3 separate regions of the Homo sapiens genome follow, and all the other regions are linked to region 1. The links are contacts of gene promoters, found by promoter capture Hi-C in blood cells and fetal thymus (Javierre and others, 2016). All regions are on one chromosome and are shown on one strand. Each heading gives the region's core, a stretch centred on a gene start or on the middle of the fragment in contact. The rest is flanking DNA. Distances are from core to core; before and after follow the strand shown.

What was found. Contacts are between HindIII fragments. The CHiCAGO score rates a contact against its expected background, and 5 or more counts as called.
Region 2: a contact is called between a fragment that was not itself captured here and the fragment with the promoter of STAR in region 1, in 1 of 17 cell types (erythroblasts). The highest score is 5.8, in erythroblasts.
Region 3: the fragment with the promoter of BRF2 here is called in contact with the fragment with the promoter of STAR in region 1 in 5 of 17 cell types (erythroblasts, megakaryocytes, total B cells and 2 more); the score reaches 10.5 in erythroblasts.

The regions. Positions count from the first base shown.
Region 1 is chr8:38,149,001-38,153,683 of GRCh38, forward strand. STAR (steroidogenic acute regulatory protein) reads right to left here and starts at 1,952. Exons shown (of 7, transcript NM_000349.3): 1 at 1,755-1,952. The coding sequence starts at 1,818. RefSeq lists enhancers at 1,791-2,090, 2,439-2,471, 4,515-4,683 and a promoter at 1,925-3,240. The HindIII fragment of the contact is 1,310 bases long and covers 1,926-3,235 here.
Region 2 is chr8:37,881,363-37,886,250 of GRCh38, forward strand. All of the region lies in intron 1 of RAB11FIP1 (RAB11 family interacting protein 1), which reads right to left. Among named protein-coding and RNA genes, the nearest start is that of RAB11FIP1, 16 kb to the right of the region's middle. RefSeq lists enhancers at 1-65, 463-572, 1,981-2,100. The HindIII fragment of the contact is 2,380 bases long and covers 61-2,440 here.
Region 3 is chr8:37,847,255-37,851,445 of GRCh38, forward strand. It overlaps BRF2 (BRF2 general transcription factor IIIB subunit), which reads right to left and starts at 2,607. Exons shown (of 4, transcript NM_018310.4): 1 at 2,376-2,607; 2 at 1,342-1,401. The coding sequence starts at 2,529. RefSeq lists enhancers at 2,283-2,422, 2,463-2,812. The HindIII fragment of the contact is 8,285 bases long and covers 1-4,191 here.

The DNA.
Region 1 (4,683 bases), core at 702-3,201:
CTATACCAGAGCCTGCTGGAGTTTCTGTCTCTAAAAGGGGAAAAAGCTGTGTTCAAGCAACCAGAAAAATCCTACTTCATAAGGAGAATACAACTCCTGAGGCCTGTGTGCTTGCATGAGTCTGTGTGTCTGCACGAGTCTGTGCTTGCATGAGGTCTGTGTGCTTGCCAGAATCTGATTGCATGAATCTGTGCTTCTGTGAGTCTGTGTGCTTGCATGCATAAGCTACTCTGTGTGCCCCTGGATTCTGGGCCAGGGAAGCCCTGTCCATCTAGTGAGGACGACAACACCACTGCCAGCTGCAGATCTAAGCATGGCTTCTCGCTCTAAAGGTAGCTAATTCAATCCAGTGTAATTGGAAAGATCGTGCCTAGATTGACTTGTGTACCCTTCAGTGGCAGCAGGGGATTGATTCAAATGACCTTGGATGCGAATCAGCTCTACAAAAGTGGCCTCTTGTAGCTGGTTTCTGCCCCTTCCTGGCTATTCAATGATAATCAGTCTTCCGTCTTATCTCTTTACCTTGCCCTCCTGTCTTACTCCCCTATGTCTCTTCTCCGTCTTTTTTTGCCTGTGGGAGTCAAGTCTAATATTTACTCTGCCACTGTGGGCAAGACTTTCCTGTGTACCCCTGCTACAAGACTTGTCCAGCTCTGAAGGAAGGCAAAGTCAGGAATAGTTCAAGAAAGATGGCCAGGCATGGTGGTGCACGCCTGTGGTCCCAGCCACTCAGGAGGCTGAGGCAGGAGAATTGCTTGAACCCAGGACGCAGAGGCTGCAGTGAGCCAAGATAGCGCCAGTGCACTCCAGCCTAGGCAACAGAGCGAGACTGCCTCAAAAATAAAATAGGCTGAGCGCCATGGCTCATGCCTATAATCCCAGCAGTTTGGGAGGCAGATCACCTGAGGTCAGGAGTTCAAGACCAGTCTGGTCGACGTGGCGAAACCCTGTCTCTACTAAAAATACAAAAACTAGCCAGGCGTGGTGGCATGCACCTGTAATCCCAGCTACCCAGGAGGCGGAGGTTGCAGTGAGCCGAGATCGTGCCACTGCGCTCCAGGCTGGGCAACAGAGTGAGACTCCATCTCAAAATAAAGTAAGCCAGGTGTGGCGGCTCACACCTGTAATCCCAGCACTTTGGGAGGCCAAGGTGGGAGAATCCCTTGAGCCCAGGGGGTCAAGACCAGCGTGACCAATATAGCAAGACATTGTCTCTAAAAAAAATAAAAATAAAAATAAATAAATAAAACTAGCTGGTTGTGGTGGTGCACGCCTGTAGTCCCAGGTACTCAAGAGGCTGAGGTGGGAGGATGGCTTGAGCCCATGAGTTTGAGGCTGCAGTGAGCTATGATTGTTCTACTGTACTCCAGCCTCTGTGACAGAGACCTTTATTCAAACAAAAAAAAAAGAAAAGGCGGAAGAAAAAAAGAACGAATGAAGGAAAAGGGGAAGGAAGAAAGGAAGAAAGAAAGGAAAGGAAGGAGGGAAGGAAGAAAGAAAAAGAATAAAAATGAAAGAAAAGGAGAAAAAAAGATTGGAGTCCTGGAGGGGAGACCAGAAATTATAGAATCTGGAAGGGATATATCTTAGTAACCAGCCCACTTCTTCCGAGGGGAAAACTGAGATTCAAGAAGGGAAGAAACTTGCCCAGGTTCACCCAGTAAGAGGCACAACTAGGATCAGAATTGGGTGGCCTGAGCCTCATCCGCTGAGAGCTGGCCAACCCCTCATCGCCTCCTTCCCGCAGCGCTCACCCTTCATGTTGCGCATGTGTCTGTAGGAGCTCCCAGCGCACAGCTTGAATGTCGCTAGCAGCATTGTTTCCTGGCAAATGTGGCAGTGGTGGGGTCGCTGCCGCTGCTGCTGCCGCCGCTGCTGCTGCCTCTTCTCTCAAGGGTGGTTCTTCGTCCTTCCTGAGCCCCTCAAGCTTCGCCTCTGAGTCCCGCAGCTGCAGCCTGGACCTGGTGTTCTGCGTCTTAAATGTCCCCCGCTGAAGGCTGTGCATCATCATCAGGAGATAAAAACGCCATCACTCACTGTGCAAAGGAAGGGGTCAAGGATAGAGCGATTGCCTCACACTGCTGCTTTGGCCGTTTGTGGGGAGCTTGGGGCGGGGGAGGGTGCAGGGGAGAGTAGGGAGGACAGGGCCAGGCGAGGGATGGAGGGGAGAGAAGCAGGGGCAGCTTAGATGAAGGCACACAGTGGTTTTCAAGACTTTAAAGTGCAGATTTCTAGCCCTTGTCTTCAGAAACTCCAGGCTCAGCTGATCTGGAATTGAGGCTCAGAAACCTGTGTTAAAAAAAAAAAAAAAAAAAAAAAAAAAAAAAAAAAAGAAGGAAAAGAAAAGAAAAAAGAAAAAAAGAAAAGAAAAAAACTTCCCTTGGCCAGGCGCGGTGGCTTACGCCTGTAACCCCAGCACTTTGGGAGGCCGAGGTGGGCAGATCACTTGAGGTCAGGCGTTCGAGACCAGCATGGCCAACATGGTGAAACCTCATCTCTACTAAAAATACAAAAAATTAGCCGGGTGATGTGGCAGGCACCTGTAGTCCCAGCTACTCGGGAGGCTGAGGCATGAGAATCACTTGAACCCAGGAGGCAGAGGTTGCAGTAAGCCAAGATCGTGCCACTGCACTCCATCCTGGGCGACAGAGTGAGACTCCGTCATAAATAAATAAATTAAATAAATAAATAAATAAATACCCAGTGGTTGCAATGCAGGTGTTGTGTGGACTACACACTACACTTTGAGAACCACCGTCTCGCGAGAGTGAGCCAGGGTGTTTACCAGGCAGTAGAGACCATATGGCTGCTCTTCTTCTGGGTGAGGACCCTGAAGTCCACAGAGTGGAACTGACTTGTTCAAGGTCAAACAGCTGGCCAGTGGCAGGGCCAGGACAACAACCCAAGCCTCTGGCCTTCAAGCCATCTGTACACAGTTCCTCCTGCGGTCCCCAGGACGCTTGGTATATTCAACTGTCAATTTATTTACTCATCTATTTATAGAAACCACCTTTCCCAAAGTCCTGTTCCGAGTGAGGGTTCTTAGGGGTCTGTGCTGGAGCAAGGATGACCTCTCGTGGCTGAGTCGCGGGGGGGCGGGGGGGGGCGGGGCAGCCCTATCAGTATACGGCAGAGAGAAGAGGAGGGCCTGGGCCACGCCCACACCCTTCCTCACACTTTCCCGCCAGTAGCTTTGTCTGAGTGAGCTGGGCTGGGGGTCTTGGTATGTGCAGAAAGCTTGAAAAGACAGGGCATGGGCTGGGCACAGTGGCTCATGCCTGTAATCCCAGCACTTTGGGAGGCTGAGGCGGGCAAATCACAAGGTCAGGAGTTTGAGACCAGCCTGACCAACATGGTGAAACCTCGTCTCTACTGACAATACAAAAATTAGCCGGGAGTGGTAGCGTATGCCTATAATCCCAGCTACTCAGGAGACTGAGGCAGGATAATCACTTGAACCCGGGAGGCAGAGGTTGCAGTGAGCCAAGATAAAGCCACTGTACTCCAGCCTGGGTGACAGAGCAAGACTCCGTCTCAAAACAAAAACAAAAACAAAAAAACAAAAATTAGCCAGGCATAGTGGCAGGCACCTGTAATCCCAGCTACTCAGGAGGCTGAGGCAGAATTGCTTGAACTTGGGAGGTAGAGGTTGCAGTGATCTGAGATCACACCATTGCATTCCAGCCTGGATGACAGAGCGCGAGACTCTGTTGCAAAAAAAAAAAAAGGAAAAAAAGAAAAGACAGGGCGTTGGGGTGTTCACCCTAGTCTTTGCACTTTAGGGGCCCTGTCAGGCTGAGCAAGGCCCCACGAGGCCTCTGCATTTCCCACTCACCCTTACCCAGGCGCAGCACGTGCTGGGCTCTGACTCTGACGGAATCTCTTCCCTTTACAGTGACCTTGAGGCTGCTTTTAAGCCAGATTCACTGGGCAAGAATATTGGGAGTGGAAAAACTCACACTGGAACTGCCCCTGGCCCAGGCCCTGCTCCCTGTGGGAGGGAGTTCTGTGTCCTGCCACCACCTCACAGAGGCAGAGGGGAGCCCTAAAAATGGGGAGCAGTGCCGGGGCCCCATGCACTCTCGCTGTCTCCCCAACACCAGACAGGGTGAAAGGGACAGGATCTGCTCAGAGCCAGGCCTGGCACTTGGAGCCCATATAGAACAGGGGAGTCACCCCCCTGGCCCCCGATTTCCACCCCGGTGATGCAGTCGGGGAATCCTGTGAGCAGAGGCTGCCTAGAGGTACCCGGCCCCTTCCTCAAAACCTCCTCCAGGAAACCTTCCTAGACCATCCTGGTCTTCTGGAATGCTGGCTCCTCCCACCACACCCTTACTGTCAGTATCACTTGAGGGGCTTAGTTCTGGTCCTGATTTGTTGAATGGTTTGTATGTGTTTGCTTGTCTCTTCTGTGGAATTATCTCCCCAAGGCAGGTGCTGGGTCCACTTTCCCCCTTAAAAGCTGTCCCCACCCTCAGCACTCACCTCCAGCAGAGACACAGGGGACTCTTGCTCCTTCTCTATTAAAACTTTTTTTTTTTTTAATTTTTAAAAATAGAGACGGGGTCTTGCTATGTTACCCAGGCTGGTCTTGAACTCCTGGGGTCAAGCCATCCTCCTGCCTCGGCCTCCCAAAGTGAGCCACTGTGCCTGGTGTGCTCCTTCTCTATTGAGTGACCAACT
Region 2 (4,888 bases), core at 1-2,500, 270 kb before region 1:
CATCTTTTGTAACATAGAGAAAAGAGGGTTCAAATTTAAATTCTTTTTGAGAAACATTTAAGCTTCTCATTTAAATGTCCAAAGATGAAAGAAGAAAGGAAGGAAACTAACATAGCTTGCCATCAGTCATAAATCGTTGAGATTACTTAAAGGCCAGTATACAAAGTCATCAAGAAGAACTTAAAATGAATTCACAAAATACAGCAAGGAGAGGATAAAATTATATGAGCTATAATTTTGGACCCTTAGGAGACAAATCTTTTATGGTTTTTATAACCTCAATCCAGAGCTGGGCAGGCGGGGAGTGGTGGGTGTTGCAAGACGCAAGGTCTTTTTTTATTTTTTATTTTTTGCAACAGGGTCTCACTCTCTTGCCCAGGCTGGAGTGCAGTGGTGCGATCATAGCTCACTGCAGCCCTGGACTCCTGGGCTCAAGTGGAAAATGCAAGGTCTTTATAGACAATGTCACCCTTGCCAGCCTAGTGTCTGTCCAATACATTTTCCAGGGCCTGGCCTGGAATTGTCTGCATATTTGTCACTTCAATTTTGAGAGGATTATTTATATTTTTCTCTTCTGACAGTCATGTGGTAAATGGTAGCCTTGGTGATGAAGGGTGTTTAGCTTTTGTAAATACCAGTTGCAGGCACCTGAAAAGGAGAAGTTGCTGAACGCTAACTGAGGAGGTTTCGATGACCTCACCAACCGCAGGCGGGCAGCACGCTTCACCTCCCCGCCCAGGGCAGGAGCTTCAGGCAGGGGTTTCTCCACAGCTCTTCCACACGGGCCCTTCTATTAGCCCTCCACGGGGATGCACAAATGTGACAGGCCTCCAAAGCAGCTGTCAGAGGCATTCAAACCAGTGCAACTCCATCTTGAGTGAGGGCTAGGAAAATGAGGCTGGGACTTGCTGCGCTGCATTCCCAGAAAGTTAGGTATTCCTAGCCTCTAGATGTTTATGGGTAAGGGAACAGATGGATAATGTTTACCAAACAGACCCAGACTTGGGAGTGTTCTAATATCCCCAAATCTGGAGAACAAAGGCTATCCTAATTTTGCTTTGAAGCTAATAATATTGATTCTCACAAAATATAGTAATTAAGAAAATTAATCCTTTATCACAAACCCTTGTAGTAGGGCACATCTCTCAATGATCTTTTTATCCTGTGTATGAATAAGCATAGTGCCTAGAGTGGAGGTGTTCCTCCTCTTACTTTCGGGAACGTCCTACTCTGTCTATGGAGTAGCTGTACCTTCAATACTTTGCTTTCTTAATAAACTTGCTTTTACTTTGCACTGCAGACTTGCCCTGAATTCTTTCTTGCGGGAGACCAAACACTCTCTTTTGGGGTCTGGATCAGGACCCCTTTCCTGTAACATAGCCAGTTGACAATTCCAAGGGCCAGCCTTGCCTTTCCGAAAGTATCAGTGAGGTTTTCTTTGCACTTCCTAATGGTTTTTGAGCAAAACTACAACCGATTCCAGAATCCTCCCTCGGGACCAATTATTACCTGATTCTCAGGTCCAATCCCTGGGTCCTAAAGTGGGATTTGCTTTGGAAACTTCCAACACCATTAGGAAGTGCAAATATAAACGTCACCAACTGTTCTTGCTGCTTAATTTCACAAGCAAACCTAAAGCCAAACACCAGGTAGCCAGGCACCAGCCACGGGGCTATTGAAGGATATGAAACAGGCTGAATCACAGGCCAGCAGGGAAACAGCCCAGGCAAAGAGGCAGAATTTACAAATCTGTGCTCCATGTATTAAAGCTGGAAAGCAAAACAAGAATTGTTTCGTTTTTTTTTTTTTCTGGTTTTTTTTTCTTGGTGTTTGTTTGTTTGTCTGTTTGTTTTAGAGACTGAGTCTCACTCTATCGCCCAGGCTGGAGTGCAGTGACGTGATCTCAGCTCACTGCAACCTCCTCCTCCTGGGTTCAACCGATTCTCCTGCCTCAGCTTGCTGAGTAGCTGGGATTACAGGCGTGCGCAACTATGCCCAACTAATTTTATGTTGGCCAGGCTGGTCTCAAACTCTTGACCTCAGGTGATCCGCCTGCCTCAGCCTCCCCAAGTGTTGGGATTACAGGCGTGAGCCACTGTGCCCAGCCAAGAATTGTTTCTTTTACTAGCAATATTATCCTCAAATTCAAAAACAGTTTAAGCAAGGGATGTTTGATAGAAGCATACTTTGATAAGACAGTGAAAGCCACAGTGCTTGAATATCTTGCCCTAAGAAATCCCAAACCAGAAGAACACATCTGGGGATTTTTATATTTAAGATCAACCCAGTTTCTAAGTGTTACTGCCCATGTGTTTTTCAGTTCACTTAATTCCTGCACCTCACAGAAGTAGCTCATAAATAATAAAGTCCCAGCCTAGCAACACAGCATGTGATGGCAGCGTGGGTGTGTTCCAGTATTATCTTTCACGTAGGCCCTGAAAGCTTGAATTATCTCAGAAATCAGGGTTGGGTCCATTTCCCTAGTCCAAAGGGCAGAAAAAGAGAGCCATAATCCCAATGTAGCAAGTTTATTTTTAAGCCCATATTCTGAAAAAATCTTGCCACCTATCAAAAGTAAAAATCAAATGATCCCTTCAATAAACAAATTATTATTGCTTATCATTAAACTCAGTCCTGCAAGAATTAAAAGGATCTCTGGATATGTAGAAAGTGACATAATTTTATTTATTTATTTATTTATTTATTTATTTTTGAGACAGAGTCTCATTCTATTGTCTATTGCCCAGGCTGGAGTACAGTGGCATGATCTCAGCTCACTGCAACCACCGTCGCCCAGGTTCAAGTGATTCTCCTCCCTCAGCCTCCCGAGTAGCTGGGAGTACAGGCGCACACCACTGCATCCGGCTAATTTTTGTATTTTTACTAGAGACAGGGTTTCACCATCTTGGCCAGGCTGGTATCGAACTCCTGACCTCATGATCCACCTGCTTCGGCCTCCCAAAGTGCTGGGAATACAGGCGTGAGCTACCACACCCGGCCAACATAAAATTTCTATAAACTATATACACACACATATATATTTTGAGATGGGGTCTTGCTCTGTTGTCCAGGCTGGAGTACAGTGCACATTCATAGCTCACAGCAGCTTCAAAGTTCTAGGCTCAAGCCATCCTCCCACCTCAGCCTCTTGAGGAGCTGGGACTAAAAGCATGTGCCACCACACCCAACTAGTTGTTGTTGTTGTTGAGACAGTCTTGCTCTGTTGCCCAGGCTGGAGTACAGTGGCATGATCTCGGCTTACTGCAACCTCCACCTCCCGGGTTCAAGCAATTCTCATGCCTCAGCCTCCAGAGTAGTTGGTATTACAGGCAAATACCATCATGCCCAGCTAATTTTTGTATTTTTAGTAGAGACAGGGTTTCACCATGTTGGCCAGGCTGGTCTCGAACTCCTGACCTCAAGTGATCTGCCTGCCTTAGCCTCCCAAAGTGCCAGGATTACAGGTGTGAACCACTATGCCAGCTAGTCTTTTGTTTTGTTTTAGAGATAGGGTCTTGCTATGCTGCCCAGGCTGGTCTTAAATTCCTGGCCACACAGAATCCTCTCACCTCAGTCTCTCATAGTGCCTGGGATTACAGGTGTGAGCCATTGCACTCGGCCTATATTTTTTAATTGTTTTTTTTTTTTTTGAGATGGAGTCTCACCGTGTTGCACAGGCTGGAGTGCAGTGGCGTGATCTCGGCTCACTGCAACCTCTGCCTCCCAGATTCAAGCAATTCTCCTGTCTCGGCCTCCTGAGTAGCCAGGATAACAGGCATGCGCTACCACACCCAGCTAAGTTTTGTATTTTTAGTAGAGACGGGGTTTCACCGTGATGGCCAGGCCGGTCTCGAACTCCTGACTTCAGATGATCCGTCCACCTTGGCCTCCCAAAGTGCTGGGATTACAGGTGTGAGCCAGAAGGCCCGGCCCCCAGCCTATATTTTTAAGTAATAACAGGCATTGGGTAAAAATTCAAATCATACAAAATGGTATAGGATGAAAAATTCCATCTTCCCACCCCTCCTGATCCCATGCCCCTCAGTCTCCATACCAGAGACAACCACTATTATCAGTTTTATACACCCTCCCAAATGGTGGTCCTGCCACAGACAAGCAAAACTGTGTATTATCCAAATAGGCTACCCTGCAGTTTTTGTTTTTGGGGATCTTATTTTTTTTTGGTCAAACACAAGACAAGGCACAGATAAAAGTATACAAAAAGTCATTTAAGTTTTCTACACTTTCAAAAAGATGTTTTATGAAGAGAAATAAGGGAACACAGAAAAAGAATGAGCTAAATACAATGCAGAAAAAAACATGAGCCTGTGCCCACACACAAGAGTGGTGTGCAGGGCACCCCTGAGTAGCCCACTGGGAAGCCCGTGCCTGCATCCATACTGTGAAATCTCTTGGGCTTTTCAGTCCTTCTGGAACAGCTAAGACCATTCAACCATGCCCTATCCTCAGGGCCGGTGTGCCTCAGAACATGGAGTTGGCTTCCCAAACATACCCAGAGCTGATCCCAGGGGTCCTTCTGTCGGAATGTGGCAGGGTCAGGGCAGCATGGCTCTTGCTATGGGGAAATGAAAAGCCTTCCCGTGCAGCCCTGCAGATATTCACGATTACGCTGGTAAAGGACTGACTGGTATGTCTCAAAAATAATCTTTCTGCAGCTGAAACAAACATGTTTTTTCCCTTTAGAACATTCCAGAGAGCAGACATATGCAGAGAAATGATGCCTTCGGAGATTCAGTTCCAACGTTTTTACATGCCAGACGCTGGAAATACAGAGAATGAGGAGGACTAAAAAGCTTTCCCTGCAATGGGATGGGGAACAGGCTCACCCAAGATCACAAAGCATTTGTTACATTGGGGCAACTGCTTC
Region 3 (4,191 bases), core at 1,357-3,856, 300 kb before region 1:
TTAGATCTGCTAAACTTGCCTCAGATATCAGATGCACAAATTATGTACCTTTCTGCATAGACAGGAGTGACACTTGGTATAGTCATTCTAAAGACACAAAAACATTTGTGTAAAGAAGTCACATTTCAGCCCACTAGTTTTTGCAGGCTGGTTTGATTCAGGGCCAAGCCCAAGTTTTATCCAGGCTCTTAGAGGCTACCTCAAACATACGTCTGATCAAACCCAAACCTTATACTGAATTGCTGCCTCTCTCAGAACCATCCCTATTTGTTTTATTTATTTTATTATTTTCTGAGACAGAGTCTGGCTCAGTTGCCCAGGCTGAAGTGCAGTGGCGCCATCTTGGCTCACTGAAACCTCCTCCTTCCAGGTTTAAGTGATTCTCCTGCCTCAGCCTCCCGAGTAGCTGGGATTACAGGTGTGCACCACCAGGCCCAGCTAATTTTTGTATTTTTAGTAGAGACGGGGTTTCACCATGTTGGCCAGGCTGGTCTTGAACTCCTGACCTCAAGCGATCTGCCCGTCTCGGCCTCCCAAAGTCTGGGATTACAGGTGTGAGCCACCATCCCCATTTTAAATTCCTAATTACCATTCTCTTCTACTCTACCTCACACCAGCAATGCTGAAAATAGGAAAAGTGAAAAGCTGGGCTAGGCCACCAGGATAGTTTTCTTTTATTATTATTATTATTATTATTATTATTATTATTTTTTGAGACAGAGTCTCGCTCTGTCACCCAGGCCGGAGTGCTGTGGTGCGATCTCGGCTCACTGCAAGCTCCGCCTCCCGGGTTCACGCCATTCTCCTGCCTCAGCCTCCCGAGTAGCTGGGACTACAGGCACCCACCATCACGCCCGGCTAATTTTTTTGTATTTTTAGTAGAGATGGGGTTTCATCGTGTTAACCAGGATGGTCTCAATCTCCTGACCTCGTGATCCGCCCGCCTCGGCCTCCCAAAGTGCTGGGATTACAGGCATGAGCCACCGCGCCCGGCTCATTATTATTTTTTTGAGATGGAGTCTCACTCTGTCACCCAGGCTGGAGTGCAGTGGCGCGATCTCAGCTCACTGCAACCTCCACCTCCCAGGTTCAAGCGATTCTCCTGCCTCAGCCTGCCAAGTAGCTGGGACTACAGGTACATGCCACCATGCCCAGCTAATTTTTGTATTTTTAGTAGAGACGGGGTTTCGCTATGTTTGCCAGGCTGGTCTTGAACTCCTGACCTCAGGTGATCCACCTGCCTAGGCCTCCCAAAGTGCTGGGATTACAGGCGTGAGCCACAGCACCTGGCCTAGGATAGTTTTCTTTAAAGCCACTGTGTTGTAAAAGGTCAATTCTCACCTCGTTGCTGGCTGCGACTAACTTGTTCGTTTTCCCCTGTGCTTCGGGAATATGTTACCTCTGTAAGATAATAAACAACAAATAGTGTGCTTAGCCTTTATTCATCAGACCCCTGCCCTCCCACCACACAAAACCAGGACGCAAAATTCAAATCATTGAGCATCTGCTGCTGCACAGTTAAAGGCCCCATCTGGTTTTCTATGTCTACAAGAGGTTCCGAATACACAGAGACTGGGAAAGGTTAGGACTGCATTAAAGCAGCTCCAAGTGTTCCAAATTTCCAGTCATCCTTCCAGTACATTCCATACAGGCAATTTTCCTAGCAGCAGATTTTGTTGTTGTTTGTTTAAGGAGTTTCCCTCTATAGTCCAGGCTGGAGCACAGTGGTGCGATCACAGCTCACGGCAGCCTTCAACTTCCAGGCTCAAGCAATCCTCCTACCTCAGATTCCTGGGTAGCTGGGATTACAGGTGTATGCCACCATACCTGGCTAATTAAAAAAAAATTTTTTTAGGCACTTGTCTCGTTACGTTACCAAGGCTGGTCTCGAGATCCTGGGCTCAAGCAATCCTCTCGGCTCTGCCTCCCAAAGCACTGGGATTACAGGCGTAAGCCACCCCACCCAGACAATGGCTGCAGATTTTGAGGGCTGCACTGGTCAGAAACTTGGAAAGCAAAGAAAAGTGATGTTTTGCCAGTTTGTGCTTAAAACTATTTCAGGGTAATAATACCTGCTATAATCGTATCGGCAATCCTTCCACAATGACCAGACATGGCAAGATGAGTGGAACTTTTGTTTCTGTCTCACTTATTCAATATTTATTACACGCACCATCTATGCCCGATACTAAGTGCTGGGAAAACACAGATGAATGGCAGCCCCCATCTCCTTCAGCTCCCTCGCTCACTTTAGGTCATTTTCTCTCAAATTAAGTGTGTGCGTTACAGTTAGGAGTATGGGGGGAGCGGGGAGGCAAAAGGAATCTGATGTTAATCCCTCCACCGCCCCAGGCTGTCCCCAGGGCCACAAGTACCTCGGAGATTGCCCTCGTCGCTGAAGGTAGTGGTAAGGACCCCCTCGGTGACCACGCAGCCGCAGTCGGAGCACACCAGCTGGCTCTGCGAATAGTGCGAGTCTTCCACCAGCTCCGTGGAGCCGCAGTCCGGGCAGCGGCCTCTGCCTGGCATCTCACAACCGGCCCCAAAGCCGCGGAAGCCTTCAGAGACTCCTGGGTCTGCAACAGCAACCGTGAGGCAGCAAGAAGTAGGAGGGGACACTTCAAAGGGTTGCACCCCCGTCTTCCGGCCAGCGCGACGGAGGCATAGGCGGTTCCCTCCGCTGGGAGGCTGCGCGCCACTTCCGGTCTGTGCCTCCGCGGGCTCGGGTAGAAACGTGAGCTAGGAGAGGAGGTTCCTGGGCTGAACTGTAGCTGTCTGGTTTCCCTGCACTCTGTAGTTAGTTTTTGGGACCTAGACTGGGGTTGAATTTGGGAAAGTTTTTGCCTACATGGACACGTATAACAGACAGAAGATTGTTGTCACCCCTGAACAACCCTCCTTTTAAAGTCCTAAGGGAATCGCAGGTTGGTAATGAATGTTTAATTGGCCATAGAAGAAAGTATATTTTTTAAAGGGAGAGTAGTGGAGAGAGAGCGGGAGCAGGAAACTGTGTTCTGCTTTCCAGAGCTGCTTCCTAAAGCAGATTCCTTCCTCTCTTTACCTCCTGTTTTTCTCAACTGTAAAATGAGGAAGTTGAAAAAAAAATCCAGAGATGCAAACCCAAACGCTTTTGGAGGCCAGGCAGGAATGTCTAAAGGAGTTTGGAGTGAAAGAATATGGAGTGATGGAGACCTGGAGCGGCGCAAGCACGCAGATTCAGATGTTTTTTAAAAAACCTTGAGCTATCTGGGCGTGGTGGCTCACGCCTGTAATCCCAGCACTTTGGAAGGCCGAGGCAGGTGGATCACCTGAGCTCGGGAGTTTGAGACCAGCCTGGGCAACATGGTGAAATCCCGTCTCTACTAAAAATACACAAAAATTAGCTGGGCGTGGTGGTGCACGTCTCTAATCCCAGCTACTCAGGAGGCTGAGGCAGGAGAATCGCTTGAACCCAGGAGGCGCAGGAGGCGCAGTGAGCCAAGATCGCGCCACTGCACTCCAGCCTGGGTGGCAGAGCGAGACTCCATCTCAAACAAAATAAAACATACCTTTAAGAAGTGTCACTCCCTTCTTTTCCACACCCAGTTTTTACACGTGATATCCAAACCTAAAGACACCATCCCTTCCCTAAGAGACTGCTTTCTCAGAGTGTGAGAATCACTACTCCTTTTCAGAGACATCCCGTCCATTCCCATGGGGATCGCTCACATTGGAGGGCCAAGAGACACAATAATACCCAACGGTCCTTTCTCTTCAATTTGAATTACTTTAGTATCATAACAGAAGGGGGCTTCAGCACATTAATCGTGGGTGGGATCCGGCAGTCCAAGCCCCCCCGCCTTTTCTAGACCTCCCCACTAGCGTGAGATACAGGATGAGAGCTTATTTCTGGCTGTCTGACAGTTAAATATTAAGATACATTTGCACATGCGCACCCGCACACACACACCACTCAGAGACATCCATTAGTTTTAGTGTGGTTGACATTCTTATTTGGATGAAGAAAGTGTCCCTGAAAGCGACATAACTTGCACTGGGAACAGTTCCTTGCATGATCACACAGCAGAGCATCAGACTCCCCTCATCCCCAGTTGTGTGCAGATCTTGAACCTACCTTCACTTTTTTTTTAAGCGGGACTTTACAGAGCCCATCTACCTAGGACAGAAGCCTTGAAATCCTGCCTGACCCAA